Linked DNA regions of Homo sapiens: regions 1 and 3 are each linked to region 2. Evidence: promoter capture Hi-C in 16 types of primary human blood cells and fetal thymus (Javierre and others, 2016). All regions are on one chromosome and are shown on one strand. Each heading gives the region's core, a stretch centred on a gene start or on the middle of the fragment in contact. The rest is flanking DNA. Distances are from core to core; before and after follow the strand shown. Region 1 has its middle 28 kb from the start of LINC02957. Region 2 holds the start of ROR2 (receptor tyrosine kinase like orphan receptor 2). Region 3 has its middle 6.9 kb from the start of LINC02957.

Region 1 (2,983 bases), core at 256-2,755, 980 kb before region 2:
CTCGTGAGATGGGAGATGTTGACGTCAGCTTTGGAAAATGCGAGCTTCCCCAGAATCTGACCATGGTGACGTGGGAAGGGACTTAGGACCCTCCCTTTCTCCTTTTACACATTGTGAGGCTCTGAGTAGGAGTTGGAACCTGGGTTTCCAGACCCCCCGCCCCCGCCCAGAGCTGCTTCTACCAGGCCACACACACTTCCATTTACATTTCAAAGAAAAGTTGCTTTATGTTTCTCTTCACGTGTTTTTTTTTTCTTTCTGCCTTCTGTGTTCTCTAGATCAAATGAAGAAAGCCCATTTATTATTTATTCCAGGTATGTCCTAGATGCATACAATTTCTTCCCAGTGATTATTTAAGATAAAAATGAAGATTGGGCTTTATCTTTTAAATGAGAGTCAAACAAGCACCCTGGCTTGTTAACAGAGAAGTCAGTGCCATACCCTGCATTGCTTCTGCAATCTCCTTAATCTGCTCTTTCGTGGATGCATTTAGTGAATCCACCTGGCCCTGATTAACTGGGCTTTGTAAAGAAAGGCCCCTCACATGGAGTCAGACATTGAAAGATATTCAGTGTTTTAACATTGAGTGGGGAGGCAGGGAAACAATGGGAATTCTCTTATAGTAATGATCCATTTTAGGTCACCTTTCACCATTGGACTACATGAGTTGGGATATAGGCTGCATGGCTATAACAAAGGCCTGAAAATACAGTGGCAGAAATACATTTATTTCCCTCAAATACAAGACGACAAAGGCAAACAGCCTGGGCCAGTGTGACTACTCTGCCACTTTCAACACATGGCTTCTATTTCTGGGTTCCAGGCAACTACTCCAATTTCCTAGATTGAGGGGTCAGGGGGAGGAAGTAGTGGACATTTCCCTTTTTTCCTAAGGCACACATCGCTTCTTTTCTCATCTCATTGGCCCAAACTTGGTCACATGGACATGTCTAGCAGCAAAGGAGTCTAGGAAATGCAGTCTCTAGATGAAAGTCTAGGCATGCAATTAAAATTCTGAGGGTTTCTATTCCTAAAAGGAAGAAAAGATGAATGGATGTTGGGAACAGTTGGCTATCTCTGTCCTGCACTAATACATTTATCTTCTTGGTTTCCCATGAAGAAGCAGAGATCATGGGAATTGCTATGGGGTAGCACTTGTTATGGACCAGGGATACAAGTTGCCACAGCAACCACACTAACTGGCTGGTGCCACCCACAATGTTATCTTTTTTTCTCTACCCTTTGCATAAGTGATGTCTCTAAATGAGCAAGATTGTAAGAAACAAATGCTGTGGACTGAATGTCCACTGTTTCTTGGTCATTGGTTCTCTGTAACAGTCTGTTAGTCTTTAGAGCCAGATACAACTGGGTTCAAATCCCAGCTCTGCCAATAGCTATGTGGGGGCCTCAGTTTCTTCACCTAAAAATTAGATACCCTATTACTTGCTGCCTAGGGTTAACGTGCGGGTAAAGTGAAAGAATGTAGGTGAAGCACAGTGCCTGGCACTTAATAGAAACTCAAAAAAGGGTCCTAACCATTACCATTACCAGGAAGGACATACTCTATAAGAGCCTGGTTTGCCAGTCTGATCAACAGATTTGTGTCAATTGTGGCAAAGGAGACCCTGGGGACCTCCAGAAGCCTCCTGTGCTGACTCTCCAGTGCTTACTGGGTCCACCTCTAGGGCCAGCCTCACCCACCACATTGGCTTGAGGTGCAACTGGAAAGTCTGAGTCAATTCATTCTTCCAATGCTGCCCCAAAGAGGGTACAGACTTCCCACCAAGCCCTACCTCAGTTGACTTTGGCCTTCCTAGCTTAGGCTGAGCCTCTTGGGAACACAGCAGCCAGCACCTGGCTTCCGCGTGCAGTTAGACACCCAGAGATGAGCCGGGGGAGTTCAGAACGCCTTCTCCCTGTGAGCCATGTGGTGGCATGCTTGACTATTGCGATGTTGGCTAGACACTCTGGCTTTGTAGGAGTCTGGGATTTGGGGGTTATCTTCTTCAGGTCACATGGCCCTCGTTTAGAATCTGGGGTCCCCCAGCCGGGATTCCCATCTTTCAGAAACACCTCAGCCAGCTTAAGGCATCTGCTCCAATGGTCTCCATGACAACCCTGAAGAGCCTGCAGTGAGCAGCCAGCAGAACTTGCCAGCCGAGAGGCTCATCCCACTAATTGGATAATGTATATGAAAGAGCTGATCACACCTGGCACCTGAATCAAAGGGTGAACTCACCAGACATGAATCATGCCAGCCTGTTAAGTAGGTACAAGCGTTTTTATTCCTGGCCATAGGAGCAGCCTTGCTTGTAATTAACCATCATCCCTAATATCTGTCTAATGCCCATAACACCCCCGAGAGGAGTTTTGTCATTCTTATTTTGTAAATGAGTAAGATACAGAACTTAATCAGAACTCAAGGATTCTTATTTGGTGGGCTGTTTAAGCTGGAGTAAATGTTTGTTTTTTACTGACCATCATGATGTCAACATTGCCTTTAAAAAACAGGGAATAGAAGAAGAAAAGGAAAAAAGGAGGGAGGGAGAAAGAGAGAAGGAAAAAAGGAAAGAGAAAATGGTGATTAGATGGTGTGGTGTGGAATCAACATAAGGTTACCAAGTGTGTATGATTTCACAGATGTTAAATACCATGACTACTGCTATTAACTACTCCCGCCACATCACCACATCTGCAGAATCTAAGACAAGAATGTGAGAAAAAACAATGACAGTCCTAAAGGACAATTGGCAACTTGGATCACCATCCCCCCAGGGTCCCCATTTTCCTAATTTCCACTTAGAGTAGTTACAACTTGAGCATTCCCACACATAGAAATCAAAGGGCCAGGCCTCAGCACCAGGCTGCACCCAGTACAGCCAGACTCCCTTCTTGCTTCATTACAGTGGGCTTGCATTTGCCTCCAAGGATGTCCAGGGCTCTGGAAACCAAACCTTCCAGCCTTTGGACTTTTTCAGCTACA
Region 2 (3,274 bases), core at 222-2,721:
CTAGTAAGAAGTGTCTCACACATTCCGGGGGCTTCAGGCGAACCCCATAGGTCTCTGGCGCTCCTGGGCCTGAAGGCCCCGCCCGCCCTCCTCCACCCCCGCAGGGTGCCGAGAATCCGGCCCGAGGCGCGCGGGCGGGAGGTGCTCCCGGAGTCTGCACCGCCAGAGCTAACGCCGCCTCCTCCAGGCAACCTAGGCAGGTCCCAAGCTGCACTTCCGAACCTCCCCGCCGTTCCTCTGCGCCCCGGATCCAAGCAGCCGAAACCGCGCAGGGACTCGGGGGAAGTGGGGCCCCGGGAGGAAACCCACCTAGGAGCCGGGCCCCGCCCCTCCCGCCGCCAGCCTCCTACAGGTCCCGGGGGTCCCCCCGGCGCGGCCAGAAGGCGGCCGCGCCCCAGCCGCTCAGGGACCCGCGATCCCAGTCACAAACCATTTCAATCCAGATCACACACCACTTCGGCCACCCCAGAGCGGTGGGGGAGAGGAGGTTTCAGGGACCAACAAAAGGGATGCCAAAGAGCCCGTTTCCATCAAGCGGCCCGCGGGCTGGGAAAGTCAGGACCCGGGAGCCGCCGGCGCCCCCACCCCCGCCGCAAGAGCCGCTTCTCCGGGGCCACGTCCACCCCAGGATTCTGCCAGGCATCAGGCCGCCCTGGGGGTGGGGGGACGCTCCGAGACAGACGGGGGACACTCGGGGCCGTGTGCCCTTGAAGGAGGAAGACCTCGGGGAGGAAGCCCGGGTCCTGGGACCCTCGGGGCACATCTGCGGACTCGGGTCCCGGGCCCAGGGCGGGTACTCACATTCACACTCGCACTCCCACTCGCGACCCTCGGGAAGCGCCACCGAGAGGCTCCCAGCCGCCGCCGCCCGCCCCCAGACTCTGGAAACACTTAGGCGTCCCCAGAGCGCGGCTTATTGTAACCAGCCCGAGGGGGTCCGGGGTGCGGGCCGGGAGCGGCGTCGGGCGAGATGCGAATGGCCCTGCCTGGCGCCCCTCGTTCAGGAGCATGGGCGCCGGCGCAGCGGCCGGGAGCATAGTGGCGGCGGAAGGGCTGGCCAAGCGAGCCGTGAGCTACCGTCTGCGCACAAGCCGGAACGCCAGATCCTACCTGAAGTCCGGGACACTGAGAGCAGAAGCGCGGCGGCCGCCCAGACGGCCGGGATGCACAGCAGCGGCCGCCGCGGGAGCGCCGAGCCCCGGGCCATGCCGCAGGCAGTGGGGGCCGGGAAGCCCTCAGAGCTTCGGGCCGGGGCGCGGGGTCGGGCGCCACCACCCCTTTCTACGATGCGTCCGCTCCTCCTTCTCCCTGGCGCTTCGCAAACGGGTCCACTTCGAGGACCTCGTCGTCGTCCTCTTCTCCGGCCCGGATGCGCCGCTCGGCTCCGGCCACGGCAAGGGCTGGCTGGGGAGGTTCCTTGGCGCGGGCTGGGGCGTCCCGCCGGCCGCCAGGACGAGCGCGGGGGGCGGACCGCGGGCGAGCGCGCAGGAGGCAGGGTCCCCGCTCGCCCGCCCCGATGGGCAGAGCGAGGCTTGCGCCGGCGCCCCCTGCCGGGGGAACGCGCGGGCGGCGGGCGGGACCCAAGGAGCTGGGGCTGCAGCTGGGGCCCCGGACCTGCCTCCTGCGCCCGCCCTCGGGCCTGCGCCTCGGAACGCTTGAACACAAAGGTGGCGCCTTGGGGGCGTCAGCCGGAGTTCGGCGGGTCTGCCCACGCAGGAGAGGCGCCCAGAGCGGGTGCCCCCGACTTTCGGGGGCGACACACCCGGGGATCTAGGTCACAAATCAGTAACTCCAGGCTGCACTGCGCACCGGGACAAATCTGAGAGCCACCCAGCCCCAGACACCAGCGGTGAGGCAGGAAGAGGAGAAGCGAAAGTTGCAAAAGGAAATGTTCAGGAAAACAAACAGGCCGCCTTGGCACCGGCGCCCTCCCAGGTCGGTGGGGACAAGCGCGTCCCCCGAAATGCTCAAAACTGCCAGGGGTCGAGCTGCGTGGAGGGAGCCCTCGGGAGCGCGATGCTATCCGAAGCCACCGCGGCTTTTGGTTTACTGTTAAAAGCAAATTGTATAATTTTACCCATTAAAGGCAGAACACTATTTGTTCTCTGCAGAGGCCCAGAATGTGCAGAATTTGCTTCACTTATTAGAGACATTTTGAACGGAATTCAAATAGCATGTTTTCTTGCTTATTCTTGGTTTTGCTCAGCACATGCAAATGTCTTTGTTTTTCCTCTTAGAGGAAGGAATTGGATTCTCCAGCATCTCAGTTGCTTGTTCCATGAGATTGATCTTTTAACTGATTATCCAGCAGTTTGTTTGGTGTTTTTGCTGGAGTACCAAGCTCTGTTAATTGGAGGGCATTAGGGAGAGCCCTGGCCTTGGGTGCCAGACGTGAGGCCTCAGACGTGGCCAGAAATAAAAACTCTCTTGCTATGGTCTGCGGACAAAATGACTAAGCCAGCTCTAGCTTGTTACCTCTGTTAAAAGTATTTAGGCGTCCGGCTATCTCTACCCAATTTGTGTAGGGAAATATCTCACGCAGTTCTCATTCCCAGGAGCTGCTGTAAATCCAGTAGGAGAATGGGAGAAGATCCTAGCCCCTCCTCAACTGGATGGCAAAATTATTACCAAACTTCTTAGACGGGCTCAGGCTGTTCCTCTGCCCAGGCTGGTGCGGGTCTGAACGGGGGGGCTGCTCTCCCCAGTGGTTAGAGGACTGCCAGGGGTTTATCTTTGGGGTTTTCCTCCCTTTAGCTTCCCTTAGAATCCTTAAGGATGCTTTTAGAGTAATGTTTTAAGAGTAGGTGCTGAAGCACTTAGTTCCACACCCCTCTCTTCTGGATCTAGGGAAAACCCAACAGGGGCTGCAGAGAAGGGTCTTGAACCTGCCCTGGAAAACCCCTCCCTCAGCAATGCTGTGTCCTTTCCGTGGTGCTGTGCAGCTCGGAGAAGGTGGTCCCAGCACCTTTGCTTTCCACTTCACACAGCGTGAGCATGTGGCTCCAGAACCATTTCATCAGCAGCCCTGCCATTTATTTTTGTGTGACCTTCAGGAAAATGACCTCATCATGCCCCCATCTGTGTGTTATTTTCACATGACTGAGGCCCCACAAACCCAACTCAAAGGTTTAAACAGCAACATATATTTTGCTGACAGTTTCTTGGGTGGAGTCAGAAATGTGGGTTATATTGCATATGATTTCTTAAAAGCCTTTTAAAGCTTTCTTTTTTGGCATTTCTCTCTCACTCTCTCCTTCCCTTTCTGTAGGTTCTG
Region 3 (3,279 bases), core at 23-2,522, 960 kb before region 2:
CCAGTTTTGCCCAATCCCAATCTTCACTGAAGGATGCCATTTGACCATCAATTAGTCGCTGTGTCCTCTAAGGAAGCATGCAGACAGCAAGTTTGTGGTGTTTACTAAAGAAACACTCTATGTTTGACCCATTGCACTGGACACAGATGGCTGCCTTGAGAGTCAGGGCTCCTATGGTACATATGTCTTTATTTTATAAGCAGGATGACCATATTTTCTGAACCACAGACCCAGGAATGTGGTTTGACAATTATAAATGCAATCAGGAGGCAAGAAGACCGAATATTTTAAATCAGCACTACCCCAGAAAATACGGAAATTATACTGGTTGTGCTTACTGTCTGTCGTGTTTTATAAATAAACCTTAGACAATCTACGTACCCTTCATGTTTCTACTCCTTTGTTAGTAATAAACTACTACATCCTTCACAGATTGTGGAGATTAAATGAGATAATTCACACATAATCAGGAGACTATATGGCACATTGTAGAACTGCTCCATAAATATTAGCTAATTACATTTTTATAGTTGCTATCTCTTTATGTCCCTTTCATATACCTTAAGTACAGTAAGTGTTCAATAAATAGTTGTTTATGGAAGTTAAGGTTGTTTGTTGGGATTATGGAGTCTATTAGTTGGCTATTGTTGTGTAACAAATTACCATAAACTTAATGGCTTCAAACAACTTCCATTCATTATCTCACAGTTCTGTAGGTCAGAAGTCCAAGTGGGCTCAACTGGGGTCTCTACTTAGGGTCTTTCAGGGCTGAAATTTTGGCTGGGCTGGGCTCTAACCAAGGTTCTGAGGAAGAGTCTGCTTTTAAGCTTGTTCAGGTTGATGGGAGAATTCCATTTTTTGCTATTGCTTGACTGACTTCTCCATTTCTTTGTTAGCTGTCAGTCAAGGGCCATTCTCAGCTCCTAAGGCCATTTGCATTCTTTGCTCCATGGCCTCCTCTATCTTCAAAGCCAGTAATTGTTCATCAAATACTTCTCATACTTGGAATCTCTCTGACTTCCTCTTCTTCTACCAATCAGATAAAACTCCACTTTAAAAAAATAGATTTAGGAGGTACAAGTGCAGTATTGTTACATGTATGTGGATATATTTCATCATGGTGAAATCTGGACTTTTGCGTACACGTCACTCAAATAGTGAACATTGTACCAAATAGGTAGTTTTTTAACCTTCACCCCATTCCCATCTCCTCATCTTTTGGAGTCTCTAACATCTGCTATTCCACTTTATATGTCCATGCATACCCAGTGTGTAGTTCCCACTTACAAGTGAGAACATGCAGTATTTAACTTTCCGTTTCTGAGTTATTTCACTTATGATAATGATTCCAGGTCCATCTATGTAAAACTCTATATTTAAAGGGCTCATATGGTTAGGTTAGGCCCACCCAGATTATATTTTTATTTTAACATCAACTCATTAGTGACCGTAACCACATAGGCAGGATTTCTTTGCTATATCACTTAACCTAATCATGGATGCTGCAATGGGGGCAGAGATCATTAGGGCCACCTACAGTTCTGTCCACCAGAGTACAAACTCTGGCCCCATAATTCACTCTCACTTGCAGAAAACATTTACCTGCTCCCCAAGGTTTCCAACAGTCTCATCCCATTATCACACTAGATAAAGTCCAGAATCTCACCAGCTCAAAAGCCCAAAACTCATTATCTACTTATCTGAATCAGGTGTAGATAAAGCTTCTGAGTGTCACCCATTAAGTACAGCTCCAGGGGCACAATTTGTCTCCACCTACACACCTGTGAAATAAAAGACACAAGGTATCTTTCTCCAATACTCCCAACACACAATGGTGGAAAGAATAACAGTTATAGAACTCAAGTCCAAAATTGGGGAAATGGAAGGTAAAAAGGAGTCATTTGTTTCAATCTGTTTTGAAACCCAGCTGGGCAAAATCCACCAGGTCTCAAAGCCAGGTAACCTGTGTCTCTCAGCTGCTCTGGGCTTTCATCTTCAACTTCTGGGCTCCTGCTTTAGCTCTTAGAGTCATGCTCCGTTTTTCACAAAAGGTGACAGGTGTTTGCAGCTGGGGAATTTTATCAGTCTGCTTTTGCCATTTTGTAATATCTATATTCCATTTAGTCCTAGTTGGCATCTTTATTTTCTGCTAATCTGTTTTGCTAAAATATTTCCACTAATACAATGTTTTTTTCTAAAGTGTGTGGGCCTTGTGTGTATTTTCACTGGGTTTCTCTGCATTAGACAAAAGCTATACACACAAATCTTTCTCTAATAATCTCTTCTCTATCTTTGGCTTCTGCTTGGAGTGCTGAACACCAGTGTTTTTAAGCTTCCCAGAGGCTCTCTGGTTTGATTAGAAGATCTACATGGAACACTCTTAATCCCTTGGAAGAGTCATTATGTGGCTGAATACACAAGACCTCTGAGCTTTCCAGGGTTTCAGCAAAGAGCTGCACAAACACATATTCAGCCTTTTCTCTATGTCATAATTTTGGCATCCATCTCTGACTTCTAGGGGTATTTTTTGCCACCTGGAGAGGCTAAACTTTTGAAATTATCAAGTCGTTGTCCCTTCAATAAGTCTTCCTTCAATATGTCTCTCTTCTATTACATTTTAACATAAAAAGCAAGAAAAAAACAAGCAGCACCTTCAACACTTTGCCTGGAAATTTCCTTAGCTATATATTCCAGTTTATTACTTATGAGTTCTGCTTTTTATGTAACAACTGGACACAATTTCACTAAACTTTCTGCAATTATATAACAAGGATCTCTTTTCTTCAGGTTTCCAATAACGTGTTTCTCACTTCCTTCTTGGCCCATGTCAGTAGTATCCTTAAAGTCCAGATTTCTACTAGCAATCTGTTTAAAGTGATTCAGCTTTTTCTATAATGCTCCTCACTTTTTTCTGAGACTTCACTGGCAGAGTCTTTAACACACATATCTCAGTCAACCAATCAAACTATTAGAGTCCTTTCTAACCCATCACTTTAAAACACTGAGTCCATACTCTCAGTGAGCCTGTATCAGTAATTTCAGACTGATACAACTTTATATTCCTTCCACTTTGATGCCACACCCTTAAGATCCATTCCCACACATATTCCCCAGGTTTCTGTCACTATAAGCTAGAAACATCACATAGTTCTTTTGGTGTCCATCACACCTCTCTGTGGGTCACAACTTGTACTTCACCTTAGGATCTACTGGGACTTGAGCCTCACGATAGGTCTCTAGGTCCAGAGGAGGATCAGCAGTGCCTATAGGGTCACTAGG

Evidence for each region. Contacts are between HindIII fragments. The CHiCAGO score rates a contact against its expected background, and 5 or more counts as called.
Region 1: a fragment that was not itself captured here is called in contact with the fragment with the promoter of ROR2 in region 2 in 1 of 17 cell types (M2 macrophages); the score reaches 5.6 in M2 macrophages.
Region 3: a contact is called between a fragment that was not itself captured here and the fragment with the promoter of ROR2 in region 2, in 1 of 17 cell types (M1 macrophages). The highest score is 5.4, in M1 macrophages.

What each region holds. Positions count from the first base shown.
Region 1 is chr9:90,967,311-90,970,293 of GRCh38, forward strand. No RefSeq gene overlaps it. Among named protein-coding and RNA genes, the nearest start is that of LINC02957, 28 kb to the right of the region's middle. The HindIII fragment of the contact is 3,335 bases long and covers 1-2,983 here.
Region 2 is chr9:91,948,757-91,952,030 of GRCh38, forward strand. ROR2 (receptor tyrosine kinase like orphan receptor 2) reads right to left here and starts at 1,472. Exons shown (of 9, transcript NM_004560.4): 1 at 1,111-1,472. The coding sequence starts at 1,207. RefSeq lists enhancers at 263-764, 765-1,264 and silencers at 1,458-1,637, 1,751-2,045. The HindIII fragment of the contact is 6,243 bases long and covers 1-3,218 here.
Region 3 is chr9:90,988,488-90,991,766 of GRCh38, forward strand. No RefSeq gene overlaps it. Among named protein-coding and RNA genes, the nearest start is that of LINC02957, 6.9 kb to the right of the region's middle. The HindIII fragment of the contact is 894 bases long and covers 826-1,719 here.